2 separate regions of the Homo sapiens genome follow, and region 2 is linked to region 1. Evidence: promoter capture Hi-C in 16 types of primary human blood cells and fetal thymus (Javierre and others, 2016). All regions are on one chromosome and are shown on one strand. Each heading gives the region's core, a stretch centred on a gene start or on the middle of the fragment in contact. The rest is flanking DNA. Distances are from core to core; before and after follow the strand shown. Region 1 holds the start of USP53 (ubiquitin specific peptidase 53). Region 2 overlaps CCNA2 (cyclin A2).

The links. The method cuts DNA at HindIII sites, captures the fragments that hold promoters and counts their contacts. A CHiCAGO score of 5 or more calls a contact.
Region 2: a fragment that was not itself captured here is called in contact with the fragment with the promoter of USP53 in region 1 in 1 of 17 cell types (non-activated CD4 T cells); the score reaches 6.1 in non-activated CD4 T cells.

What each region holds. Positions count from the first base shown.
Region 1 is chr4:119,207,605-119,213,962 of GRCh38, forward strand. USP53 (ubiquitin specific peptidase 53) reads left to right here and starts at 5,109. Exons shown (of 19, transcript NM_001371395.1): 1 at 5,109-5,269. LOC101929762 (a long non-coding RNA gene) reads right to left here and starts at 5,040. Exons shown (of 3, transcript NR_125931.1): 1 at 4,923-5,040. RefSeq lists enhancers at 1,672-2,871, 4,027-4,601, 4,724-4,843, 5,175-5,748, 5,454-5,503 and a silencer at 4,974-5,103. The HindIII fragment of the contact is 14,070 bases long and covers 397-6,358 here.
Region 2 is chr4:121,816,850-121,823,207 of GRCh38, forward strand. CCNA2 (cyclin A2) reads right to left here. Exons shown (of 8, transcript NM_001237.5): 2 at 5,554-5,797; 3 at 4,130-4,242; 4 at 3,693-3,916; 5 at 2,523-2,730; 6 at 1,951-2,064; 7 at 1,195-1,328; 8 at 1-837. The coding sequence ends at 789. EXOSC9 (exosome component 9) reads left to right here. Exons shown (of 12, transcript NM_005033.3): 12 at 1-172. The coding sequence ends at 7. Among named protein-coding and RNA genes, the nearest start is that of CCNA2, 3.9 kb to the right of the region's middle. The HindIII fragment of the contact is 1,215 bases long and covers 1,561-2,775 here.

The DNA of each region.
Region 1 (6,358 bases), core at 3,859-6,358:
TGTAGGATGAGGTGAAGTACTGTATAATAAATGAATGAATATGTGGATTAGTGTAATATTTACTAGGCTTTCAAAAATCGTTGCTAGAGTGGAGTATTTTAGCTTAAAAACACAAAAGATATTTTCAGTGTTAACTACTATCTTATGAAAAAGGAGAATATAGATTTCTGTTGTTTCAAAGGACAGAAATAAGGCTAGTATGTGGAAATTACTAGGAGATAGATTCCAACTCATTGTGATGAACATTTTTTTGAGTTAGTCTTAAAAGGGCAATAATAGGCTGCCCTGCAAAGCATTAGGTTTTCTATCACTGTTACCATATTTGAACAGAAGCTGATAGCCCACTGGTGAGGATGATCCTCCATTGAGTGGGAGGCTGGACCAGATGAAATCTAAAGCTTTCTGTACTTTTGAGATTTTAATTAAATACATATCATTGTCATCAATGATAATGGGATTCTATAAGAACATTTTTTTTTTTTTTAGTAATCAGCATTAGTAATCATAATAATGGCACTAATGGCCATCATAACCTAGTGTGGGACTTTACAGTTGCTTTTATCTAGGGCCTTATAAAAAGATATTTGTATAAGTATTTCTTCTCACCCCAATTTTAATGATAAGAAAATTAGAATGTTTCAATGTGAAATAACATACAAGGGTAATGAAATTGCCTACGCTGACCCTAAGTCAGCAAAAATTAAAGAGGCCACTAGTTAAACCACTAGCAGTGATTTACTAGCAAATGTTGACCTTGTTATGGCAGAGCCTTAGAAGGTCTGGGATGGATGGCCAGAAAAGTTTCAGCCAAGTAAGAGCTAGCTAAGATATCATGGATATTGAATTTGAACTTCCAGTGTTTAACAAAATGTCATGCTGCAGAGCTTTAGGAATCCAGTAAATACTGAAGTCCAGAATTCCTTGTAAGAGGAGAGAGGATCCTCAGGAACTCTCTCTCTCCTTCCCACTTCATCTGTGCCTTACTCGTTCAGACCAGCTACTTTCAATGACAAGGCACATTACTATAGCAATCACTTAGAGACCCATGGGAAGAATGTTCTAGGCCAGTAATTCTCAACCTTGATCCTACTGACATTGGGGACTAGATAATTCTTTGTTGTGGGAGACTGTCTTGTCCATTGTAGGATGTTTAGCAGCATCCCTGCCCGCAACTGTGACAACCAAAAATGTTTCCAACCATTGCCAAATGTCCATGGGAGAGAAAACCACCCCCAGTTTAGAACTAGTCTTCCAGACATAGAGAATAGAGAATGCAAAGCCTTGAACAGCATGAGATGTTGTTGCGGAAGCAGGAACAGATCATTCAGGGGTCTATAGGCCTTGGCAAGAATTTTGGATTTTATTCTATGTGAATGAAAAGTCATTGAACAATTTAAGTTGGGGAGTAACATGTCAATATTTTTAAAAGACTAATTGGCTGCTGTGTGGGAAATAGATTTAAAACCATGAGGATAAATGACATCTCAGGATCAGGCACTAAGGCACATCAACATTTAAAGCAGATTGAAAAGTACAAGAGAAAAGGAGGCTGAGAAAGAGAAGCCCATGAGGCAGGATGAAAGCCATAAAGGAATGATGTCACAAGAATTGAGATGAAGATGTCAAGGAGGGAGTGGTCAATTGTGACTAGATTTTTCTGGTTGACTCATCCCTGAGTCACAGCCTAGAGATTTCTCTTCTTGCCTAGCTATAGTTTCCCCTACAGTTCTTCTGTACCTTATTCCAAATGAATCATTCTGCCCCAGAACTTACAAAGGCTTCCCATTGTAGTCCTGTACTGGCCTTGTTCAATCCTGTTTCTAAAACTTTGCTCTTTTAAGTTACATATCTTCCTCAATGCCTTCAAATACACTTGCTTATAATCCTTCCAAGCTGAAGTTCATATTTGATCTCCCACAGAAGCCCTCTCCAACTTTAGCCCACACAGATGACTCTATTCAAAAAAATCAACAAAACTTCCAATTTTTACTCCATCCAATAAACACTGCTTGTTAAGCATCTGTGCTAGGCACTGTGCTATGCCTTGGAAACATGAAAAAACAGAGAGCTTAGGTAGTAAGGAAATTCACTTGTCAGTCCTTATGGATGCATTTAGGAAAAAAAGGATTCTGTCTAGTATCTAACCCTGAGTCAGTCATTGATCTACTACTTCCCTATGCTATATTTCACTCTACCCCACCCAGCTCAGTCATGGTTAAGCTGTTGATTACCTCCTGGAACTACTGGGTTACAGCTCCGCAGGACACAATGTTGCTATTCCTACCAGACATTAGTGGCAGGGTGCATCTAGCCACAGGGTAGCACATTTCTCAAAGTCTGAGTTATAATCAATCCAGAATAACACTAAGAGGTGTGTATATGTGCTGGTGGTGTGAACTTTGGCTAAGCCTCAGCTGAATGATCTAGGGTATTCTTTGGCATGCCAAGCCTGCTCCCTTTCATGATCTCTTTGCCTGTGTGAGGTGCAGAGATTGGTCTTCACAAATTTGGGTCCAGCCAATCAGAAACTAGGGAATCAAACCCACACACGTCCCTCAAGGACAAATAGTAAGAATTAAAATATTTTAAATCCTTGTTGTGACTTTCCCAATTACAAATTTTCTGGGAGCAACAGCTGTCCTGCAATGTCAATTTTCCATTTTTTCATGTTTGCTTCAGACTCTGCCCTCTTGATGCTTAAATTGGGTCCTATTACAACTCTACCATTTAAGGATCGGTACATAGATATGCTAAAAACTGGTAGAAAGTATGAAATTATATAATTTTAAAAGTGTATAGTCAGGGTTTAGTCAAATTCTTGAGCAGGGTGAACTGAAGGGTATTCTTCTGTAATTGCTAAATAAGGAAGGGAGGTAGTATAAGCCATTATTATCCACAGTTCAAATTATTTCTCAAGGGTGGAGGTGGGGGTTACTCTGTCAGGTACATTTGCAGAGAAATAAATATAGTACAACATAATTGTTATAAAAATAAGTCCCAAAAGGGATGACAATTTTGTCTCAGAAAGTTATGAAAAGATCCATGGAGATAAGCATTCGAGAGAGAACCAAAGGATCTTGAGAGAACCAAGAACATAGAAAGCAAGGACTTTAGAAAGATTAATGTGGAGGAACTGGAGGAAGAATGGCGATGAGTTTAACAGTGTGATCATGAAAGGCCCTGCCGGTGGGTAATGAAAAATTCTTAGCAGAGAAGTATAATGATCGTATTTTCACGTTAGAAAAATTATTAATAGAATGGAGGTTGGACTGGTGTGGGAAATAACTAGAGGATATCTTGTGAATATTGCAATAGTACAAGGAAGATGAGTCATAAGAGATGGTGATTACTTGAAGGACTAAGACAGTGAGAGTGGAGGGGTGGACCTGAGAGATACTTAAGGAAATAAGAGTCAAAATTTGATATTAGAAAAGAGGAAATGAAGGAAAAGTAACAGGGGTACTCATAGATTTCTGACTTGGGCAGTTGCGTGTCATTTTCTGAAACAGGGAATGGAAATGGTGTAGGTTCCAGATGGGTGAAGAGGGACATGGCATCAGGAACAGATTATAGTAAAGATGTCCATGTCAATTTGGGACATATTTAAGATACTGTGTGAAATCCAAAGGATGTTGCTTAAAAATGTCCGACGTATAGATATACACCTGAGAGTTCTTGGTGCACAGGACACGTGGTAGGTAAATCCATGATGGGAAAGAGACTGCTCAAGGAGACATGGATTAACATTAAACAGAAACAGCAAAAGAAAATGGAGTGCTGGCGAACAGAGACCACGCAGCGGAAAAACAGTATTTAAAGTGCACCAGAAAAGTAGCTGCAGAATGAGGAGAAAATGACATTAGAGAAACGGAGGGAAGAGTTAATGGTGTGCTCTTATTGTTTTAAAAATGCAGAGTAGGATCTTTTTTTCCCCCACCCCTCCCAAAGTTTTTAATATTTTGAGGGCAGAAACCACGGCTTTATTTCATCCTATTTCTGACAGTGCCTAGTTCAGTAAAGGGAACATAGTAAATGCTCAATAAATTCTTAATGATTCAGCCTCAGACATTACAAACGGGTCCTATTTGTCTCCTGTATCAACGACCAATATTTCTTCCCCCTCTTTCTTCAAATAAACTTTTAGAAGTGCCTCTGGGTTTACTGAAATCCATTTTTACAATTAGTATGTTCAACTTACACCAGCTTTGGAATGAGTTCCAAAACCTTCTTTATTTACTTGAGAGATATTCGGTATCAGTGACGATGGGTTTTTCCTTTACTACTATTCCTAAGAAAGGTTTATTCAAAATCAAAGTTTAGCCCAATTCCCAGCAGTACCTTTTAACTTAAAACCTGTTCGAAAGCACGGCAAAGAGGCGGACAGACTTTTCTGACAATCATTAACCAGGTCAACAGACTTATTAAAGCTATCTAATTAAAGGCAAGAAACAACTGCTTGGGGAATACACATTCACGCCACAGGAAGCCATTTAACTGCAAATAGATCGTCTAACGACTCACGGAAATCTAAAGGAAACTGCGTGTCCGCATGGGGTTCTGATGCCAAACTACGGATTGTTCTCTCAGGTAACACCTAACCTAAGTGAAGTCCTTGGTGGATCCGCGTTCTTGAGCTTAGAAAATACCGAATGAACTACCAAGAGCACCAGAATAATCGCCTCCTCCTGAAGAACTAGCCTCTTTCTCACCACACCAGACAGCACGTCCTACAACCACCTTTCCCCCAACAACCAAACTCCAGCGCCAAGCTGCCGCTTTTGCAGAAATGTTCTATCTCTTGGTCTCGCGCGATCTCGCGCCTCCGAGGAAGCCAACTGTATCGCGCACGCCATCAAATCCCCGCGGGAATAGAATTCCGCAGGTCCAGAAAGCCGGGAAATCGCGAGCGGAGGCGGAGTTACCTCGGTGAGCGTGAAGGCGGAGCCCGCTCCGAGGGGCGGGCTCGAGGCGGGGAGAGGGGCGGGGCTCCAGGGACCTGTTGATCGCAGGTGTCACTGGCCTGACTGGTCCCTGGGTATTGGGGCGTATGCGCATGCTCCGCTCACAGGGTCGGGCTCTGGGCGGCGGAGACCAGCCGCCTGTGCTCCAGTTCCCGGTGAGCCTCGGTACTGTGGCAGCAGTCAGTGTGTCTGGCGGGTGTCGGCGTGAAGCGGGGCTGGGCCAGCGGGAGGTAGCTCTGTGGGAGTGGAAGGCCTGTATTTCTCTACCTGGACCGCACGCTCCTCGCGCAAGGAGGGTAGAGCTCAAGGTAAGTCTCCGAAACTAGCCCTCTGGTTGGAGATCCAGAGACCTGCGACCCCCGCGGGCCTGACCGGGACACTCTCATTCTAGCCCCAGAGCTCGTCTCTCCCCTCGCAGCCCGGCGACCTCCTATGGCCCCGGCCCTCTGGGCACACACACACTCTCTTTGCTGGGCGGTTCAGACGCCAGAGGTCACGCAGCCCTTTCGCCCCTTCTCGCCGCGTCTGGCGGAGATGCCTCTGGCCAGGCTGGAGGCGCTCGCGAGGCGGGAGGAGGTGCTGTACTTGTTGGGTCCTGGATGTTATTGCTGCCGTGTTTGAGGGCGGCGACAAGCTGGAGTCCTGCTGGGATTGTGAGTAATACCCTTACTTGGCTCCTGCCCCTGGCTGTCCAAGCCACATTGCCTCGCCTGAGCACACAGTTTTTTACTTAAAGGGGTCCAGGATGGTTATGCTCCCTCCTTGGAGAAGAGAGATGACTGGACTCGTGAGATTCTTGGGGTGGTGGTTTCTCAGTGGTAGTGGTGATGTATATAAAGTTAATGTTTAGCTTCTAAAGGGCGGCTTACGGGGCATTTACCAAACTATTTTTAAACAGTGTTGGAGAACAGGAAGTACTTGCACAGGTGTAATAGGGAGGGTTTCTAAAACCTGCAATCTGAGGATGTTTTGAGGTTTGTAACCCTGCTACAAGGTTTTCTTTATCAATGCAAAGTATGCAGGGAATTACCAGTTGGACAGCAAAGTTTTCCGAAAGTTTCCTTATCTGGAAATAGATATATATATATATATATATGTGTGTGTGTGTATGTATGTATGTATAAATATATATATTTGCAAAGAATATCTAAGGCTATTTTTGAGGTAGGTTTAATAGTAAACTTAACCTGTAGTCCCAGCTACTCGGGAGGCTGAGGCAGGAGAATTGCTTGAACCGGAGGTTGCAGTGAGCCGAGATCGCGCCACTGCATTCCAGCAGGGGCGACAGAGCCAGACTCCGTCTCCAAAAAACAAACAAACAAACAAAAAAACGCAGTACACTTAGGAAGGTTTTTGTGATTAAGATCTGATTCACTTTTAGTTATTAAAAGAAAAGG
Region 2 (6,358 bases), core at 918-3,417, 2.6 Mb after region 1:
CAATTAAAGCTAACAGTTGTATATCTGTATATATAACTATTAAAAGGGATATTTATTCCATTCTGAGAACCCTGGGTATTTTTTATTCACAAATCCATTATAAAATCTAGCAGGATTTTAAAAATAGTTTTTTGTTTTTAATGTGCTTTAAAATAATAAACCTTCTGGAGCATTTCTCGTCTGTTAATTTGCATATAAGCTTCCCACCCTCTTCCACTCCCAACCTCTGTTGAGTTTACCTCGCAAAACCTAAACAAACAGGTTTTACAAAGAGCGAAAAAGTCTGGGGAATCTCTACTGTATCTATCTCTGAATACTGTATTCAGATATGCTTAGATTAGATTATGCCCAAGTCAGCAAATTGATCCAGTTGCTTAGGAAAATGAATGTCAGAATTTGAGGGTCTGTTTTCCTAAACCTACTTTAATTTTAGAGGAAGGCTTTTCACTTCCCATTATATAGTAAACCAAGTAAACTTCTTTACTAAGCAAAATCCTGAAGAAGTTAAATTTGACTTGCAAAGTTTTCCAAATCAATTTATTATCCTGACAGCTGGCATCATTAATACTTTAACAAAACCACTTAAAATTAGCCAAATATCTAAGACAGATACATATACAAAAGATATACAAATTAAAACCATTTAAAAAGTAATAGATACCATAATTTGTACTTGGCCACAACTTCTGTATTCAGAAATGATTGTAAAATTAAAACCTAAGTTAAAAACTGTACACCATATACTTTGAGTGATTTACATCTTAGAAAACAAAGGCAGTCTTTCATTGTTACAGATTTAGTGTCTCTGGTGGGTTGAGGAGAGAAACACCATGATACCTGTAAGTAGGGAAAAAAAAAGCATTTTTAGTAAACACTCACTGGGTAAAGGAGATCATGGAATAATGTTTGTACTCATGTATTGGGAACTAAAAAATGCTATTTCTGTCTGACCGACTTGATGGTTTTAGAAACACTGTCTGGTCCCTGAAACACACATGCATGCCCCCTTCCTTCTCTCTTCTCCCCCAGACCCAGGGCAGAAAGCATGAACTACAACCTTCTTCAAACACATAACCAATTTAGAGAACAGCTTCTCAAGGAGGCTATGGCAGATTCATGAATAAGGTTAAAATGTCAAAGATCTCTGAACCATAATCTAGAAAAGTAAGCTTCAATATCCAAGTTAATTCTTACTTTGAATTTTTGTACTTTTCTCTTATTGACTGTTGTGCATGCTGTGGTGCTTTGAGGTAGGTCTGGTGAAGGTCCATGAGACAAGGCTTAAGACTTTCCAGGGTATATCCAGTCTTTCGTATTAATGATTCAGGCTACAGAGAAGGGAATAGAGAACCCCTGAGTTTTGCTTTTAGTAACACACCAAACACAGTAAATAGTTGGCATTAAGCTTATGTTAAATTCCAGTACTAATCTTTAACTTTTCCAACTACTAGTTTTCTCAGGCCATTATTCCATCCCTCGATCCATTTTCTACTACTTTCCCTGCCAGCAACAGGTCAGATGCTTTTAAAAAAGCTCACCTTTCAATCCAAGTTACAACTAAGCTTACTACCTAACAAACACTGTTCAACAGGTAACATGCCTTAAACAGTATATAATCATCCCTCAGTGTACATGAGGGATTGGTTCCAGGACCCTTCCCAAATATACCCAAATCTGTACATATTCAAGTCCTGCAGTCACCCTTCCATATATATGGGTTGTGAATCCCCTGAATACTGTAGTTTCAGTCCACATTTGATTGGAAAAAAATCCATGTGTAAGTGGACTCACACAGTTCAAACCTGTGTTTTTCAAAGGTCAACTATATATATTTGAAGTTTTTCCAAGTAAGAACATCTAGGCAACCCTCAGTTTTGTAGGACAATTATTATTTAATCTGGCACAGGCATTTCAGTCACAAGATAGGTGTGTGAAGACCGTAATACATACCCAGCTTTGTCCCGTGACTGTGTAGAGTGCTAAATGAAAGGCAGCTCCAGCAATAACTGATGGCAAATACTTGAGGTATGGGTCAGCATCTATCAAACTTAATTCTCCCAAAAACTGGAATAAAAAATACTTTATGATCACAAGAGCGTTTAGAATTCAAATGTCAAACCTCTGCCTTCTAACCTAATTTTTTCCTGCCTTTGATAACGGCTCTGTAGCAACTCTAGAAAAAATATCTCACAGCCTCATCTTTAAACATATCAATCATTTTAGTGTTTTGTTCCATCCTCATCCTGTATTTTCCCTCCTTTATTAACTTTTAAAAAACAACTCTTCTGACTACCCATCCCCAAGATGTCATCCTTAGACCTCTGCTTCTAGTGCTTTCCTGATATAGATTATCTTTTGCCAGCAGTAGGCTTTCTTCCATACTGCAGCATTAATCTCCCTCTGAATACTAAATCTCTTCACCACTGCTGTACAAAGGAACTAGGTTCCTTTACAAAGGAATTAGGGCTTACCCCTAATTATTACCAAAGAATCACCATTCAACAAAATGAAAGTTAACTCACCATTGCTAAACTTTCAACTTTGCAGTTTGCAGGCTGCTGATGCAGAAAGTATTGGGTAAGAAACTGATTTACTGTTGGAGCAGCTAAGTCAAAAGTAAGGACTTTCAAAACTAGATGCTCCATTCTCAGAACTTGTTTCTTGGTGTAGGTATCATCTGTAATGTACACAAACTCTGCTACTTCTGGGGGGTATATTTCTTCAAACTTTCTACAATGAAAAAAGTTTTAAGTAATCAGTCCTAAAAGAGAAGCAAGCTTCCTTATCCCAGTTCTGAAATCCCATTAGCAGAATATGGAATGAATCCAAAATCCACACCAACTGCATTTCCAGACACTTGATCATCATTTCTAGTAGAGACTGGATAGCTAATTGCTAATTAAAAGGCCCAAATCAATAAAGGACTTTTGAGATATTTTCCCCAGTTCAGTCAAAGGAAGTAAATGAAAGGCATGAGACTTCTCGAGATGGGAACAATGCCAGAGTTCACCAAGTAGCTGAAAATTTAGGAAATACAAGTCTTAGGAAAACATGTTTCATGTTTTCATTTTTAAATTTAGTTTTTCTTTCTTTTTTTTTTTTTTTTTTGAGACAAGAGTCTTGCTCTGTCGCCCAGGCCAGAGTGCAGTGGTGCAATCTTAGCTCGCTGCAACTTCCACCTCCTGGGTTCAAGCGATTCTCTTGCCTCAGCCTCCCTAGTAGCTGAGATTACAGGCATGCATCACCATGCCCAGCTAATTTTTGTATTTTTAGTAGAGACAGGGTTTCGCCATGATGGCCAGGCTGGTCTCAAACTCCTGACCTCAAGTGATCCGCCCACCTCGGCCTCCCAAAGTGCTGGGATTACAGGCGCGAGCCACCGCACCCAGCCTTTACTTCTTAATAAAAGAGACACTGCTTATATGCCAGAAAGTAATATTGGAAGGAAAATGTTTTAAAATTTGTAACCTAGTGTACTATATCATGTTCAAGGAATCCAGTTGGGGGAAAATTAGTGTTCTAGATTAGAACAGTTTCATCCTCCTCCACTGCCCTAAGCCCCAGCACATTGCCATCCCTAAAGTAGTCACTGACTCTGCCTGGTGTATGTTAAAAGGTCACCATTAAAAAAATCAATTTCTTCCCTAGACAAAAGGTCGTGATCACTTTTAAACAAACCAAGGTAGACTTACGAGGCTAACAGCATAGCAGCAGTGCCCACAAGCTGAAGTTTTCCTCTCAGCACTGACATGGAAGACAGGAACCTATCAATGTAGTTCACAGCCAAATGCAGGGTCTCATTCTGTAGTTTATATTCTTCTCCTACTTCAACTAACCAGTCCACGAGGATAGCTCTCATACTGTTAGTGATGTCTGGCTGTTTCTTCATGTAACCCACTTTAGGTTTACATTTAACCTATTGAGAAAATTATTTATAGTGTTAAAATTATTCTAGTGTAAAAACTGCAATTAGATTATTTTACCATTAATTACGAGAGGCTACATGCTATAAACTTAACTGTAGCATTAGAATAATTCATTAGTTTAAAAATTTAAACATTATCCTCTCAATTTCATTTAGCCACATTTAACAAATACATTATACAAACTGGATTCAGAGAACCTTTACCTCCATTTCCCTAAGGTATGTGTGAATATCCTCATGGTAGTCTGGTACTTCATTAACACTCACTGGCTTTTCATCTTCTAATATAATTGACATGTCCATAGTATGTGGTGACTCTGGGACAATTCAAAAGATATGATTAAATTAATTGTTTGCCTATTTAGTTTAATAGCTAAAAATGACTGCCATGGAAGGAATCTCATATTAACAAAGCACTTATTTCTTCAAACTAAAAAGAGCTTCTCATGACAAAATATGTAGAATATTTTACCCTAGTCTCAGTATCTCTGTACATAGAACTTTGGAATGATTTTAGTTAATGAGGGAAAAAAAAAAAAACATATTGGTAGGCCCCTAACAGGAAAATGAGAATCAGGTATTATCTTAAAGTATCCATCTTCCACAACAGAAAGGAGCAAATGGCATGGTGGTTCTGTTAGGACAGAACACTTTTAAAATCCAAGTTTTGAGATAATATCTAAGATTTGTCCCAAGAGAAACTGCAGATCCCAGAGTCTGACATATATAAAGCACAAGTAGGCAATAGCTAGCATCAGTTAAATGGCCTCTATTAACAAGTGTTATTAAGAAATTAGGTTTGTTATGGGCAAATGGATTAACACTATAAATAATTTATTTTTTGTAGTATAAATTATTTTGAAGCAAAGAGTATCATCCATTATTCCTTTCACTTCAAAGATCACCTTGAGATTAAACATTTTCTGCAAAATTTTGATAAAAACACACAAATTATTATTTCCAAAGGACTTTTCCTGCTCACCCCTCCTTCCTCACAATCAATACAACTAAAACTAAAATGAGATTGGATTTAGTGAGCTGTCCAGTGACTCAATATCCCTAGGGCAAAGAAATAGTACAAACTGCAAAGAGCTGTTTACAGAAGCTACTTTAATACATGGGTAAGAGTAAACAGCCATGGTACAACTATTTACTTGTAGGAGGAAAAGTGTCACTTTCTGGTATCAGATGCTAATCCAGACTGGTTTTATAGAAACAAAATTATAAAACTGGAAGAGACGTTATGTAATCACAATATTTAAGACTGCATCTTCAAATAGCACTAAGTGATATATAAGTGAGTTAAATAAAACTGAAATCTATTCTCCCAACCAAGAACACATTTATGGGATCAGATTAAAATAAGCATTTAAGATCTAATTATAATTAGATTGATGTGACTGGCAGTGAACCTGAAAGAGCACTGGATAAGGATCTTTTTGTATGTCACCAAGTCAAGTGTTAGCTGTGAGATCTGAGATAAGTCACATCCTTTCTAAGCCTTGTTACATTAAACCTAACTCACTATAGTCAAAATGACTACATAAGACATCTTAAAATGCAAATCATTAATATCATCTAATAATTATAATTACCGTAATTCCACACAGATTTTCCTTAAAACTTACCAAAACTACCATCCATTGGATAATCAAGAGGGACCAATGGTTTTCTGGGTCCAGGTAAACTAATGGCTGAATTAAAAGCCAGGGCATCTTCACGCTCTATTTTTTGAGATTCAGCTGGCTTCTTCTGAGCTTCTTTTTCTGCTTCATCCACATGAATGGTGAACGCAGGCTGTTTACTGTTTGCTTTCCAAGGAGGAACGGTGACATGCTCATCATTTACAGGAAGATCCTTAAGGGGTGCAACCTAAAAAAAAATTAATAACTGGCTTTGAGCCTACTAGTCTTGCATTCTTTCTCTTATGGGTGTTGGCCTTTGCTTTTTCTCCCAAATACTCTATCAGGAATTAAACTTTCTGGGACAAAGAAGAGTTTCAGTATTCAAAAGAGAAGGGATGTTCCCATTTGTCACAGGCATTCCCACAAAGGCTATCAATAGATAACACTAGGTGGAATTATGCAAAACTTATCAGGGCCACAAGAAGGGTCGGGTGACAGGCCAATACGTGACAAGTTTAGGAAAGACAGCAAAAAAATTGTTGGTTCACCACTGTCGCCCGAGGGTGGAGCAACAGAGCAAATCCGGCTAAAATGGCGGAATTTGCCAAAAGCAAAGTATTTTGTACACGCTTTTCTAAAGTAGAGGTCATCTCTTAAGCGTGAGGAGGATAGGGGTCAGAGTCCTACAGCAGTGCCTGGGGTTTAAAAGTGGAGAGAAAGGCGCGGAGCTGAGCGAAGACTACACGTTTTAGAGCTTGGTTTGACCCCATTATGTACAGGCAGATGCCCCCTATAGAGAGCAGACCGG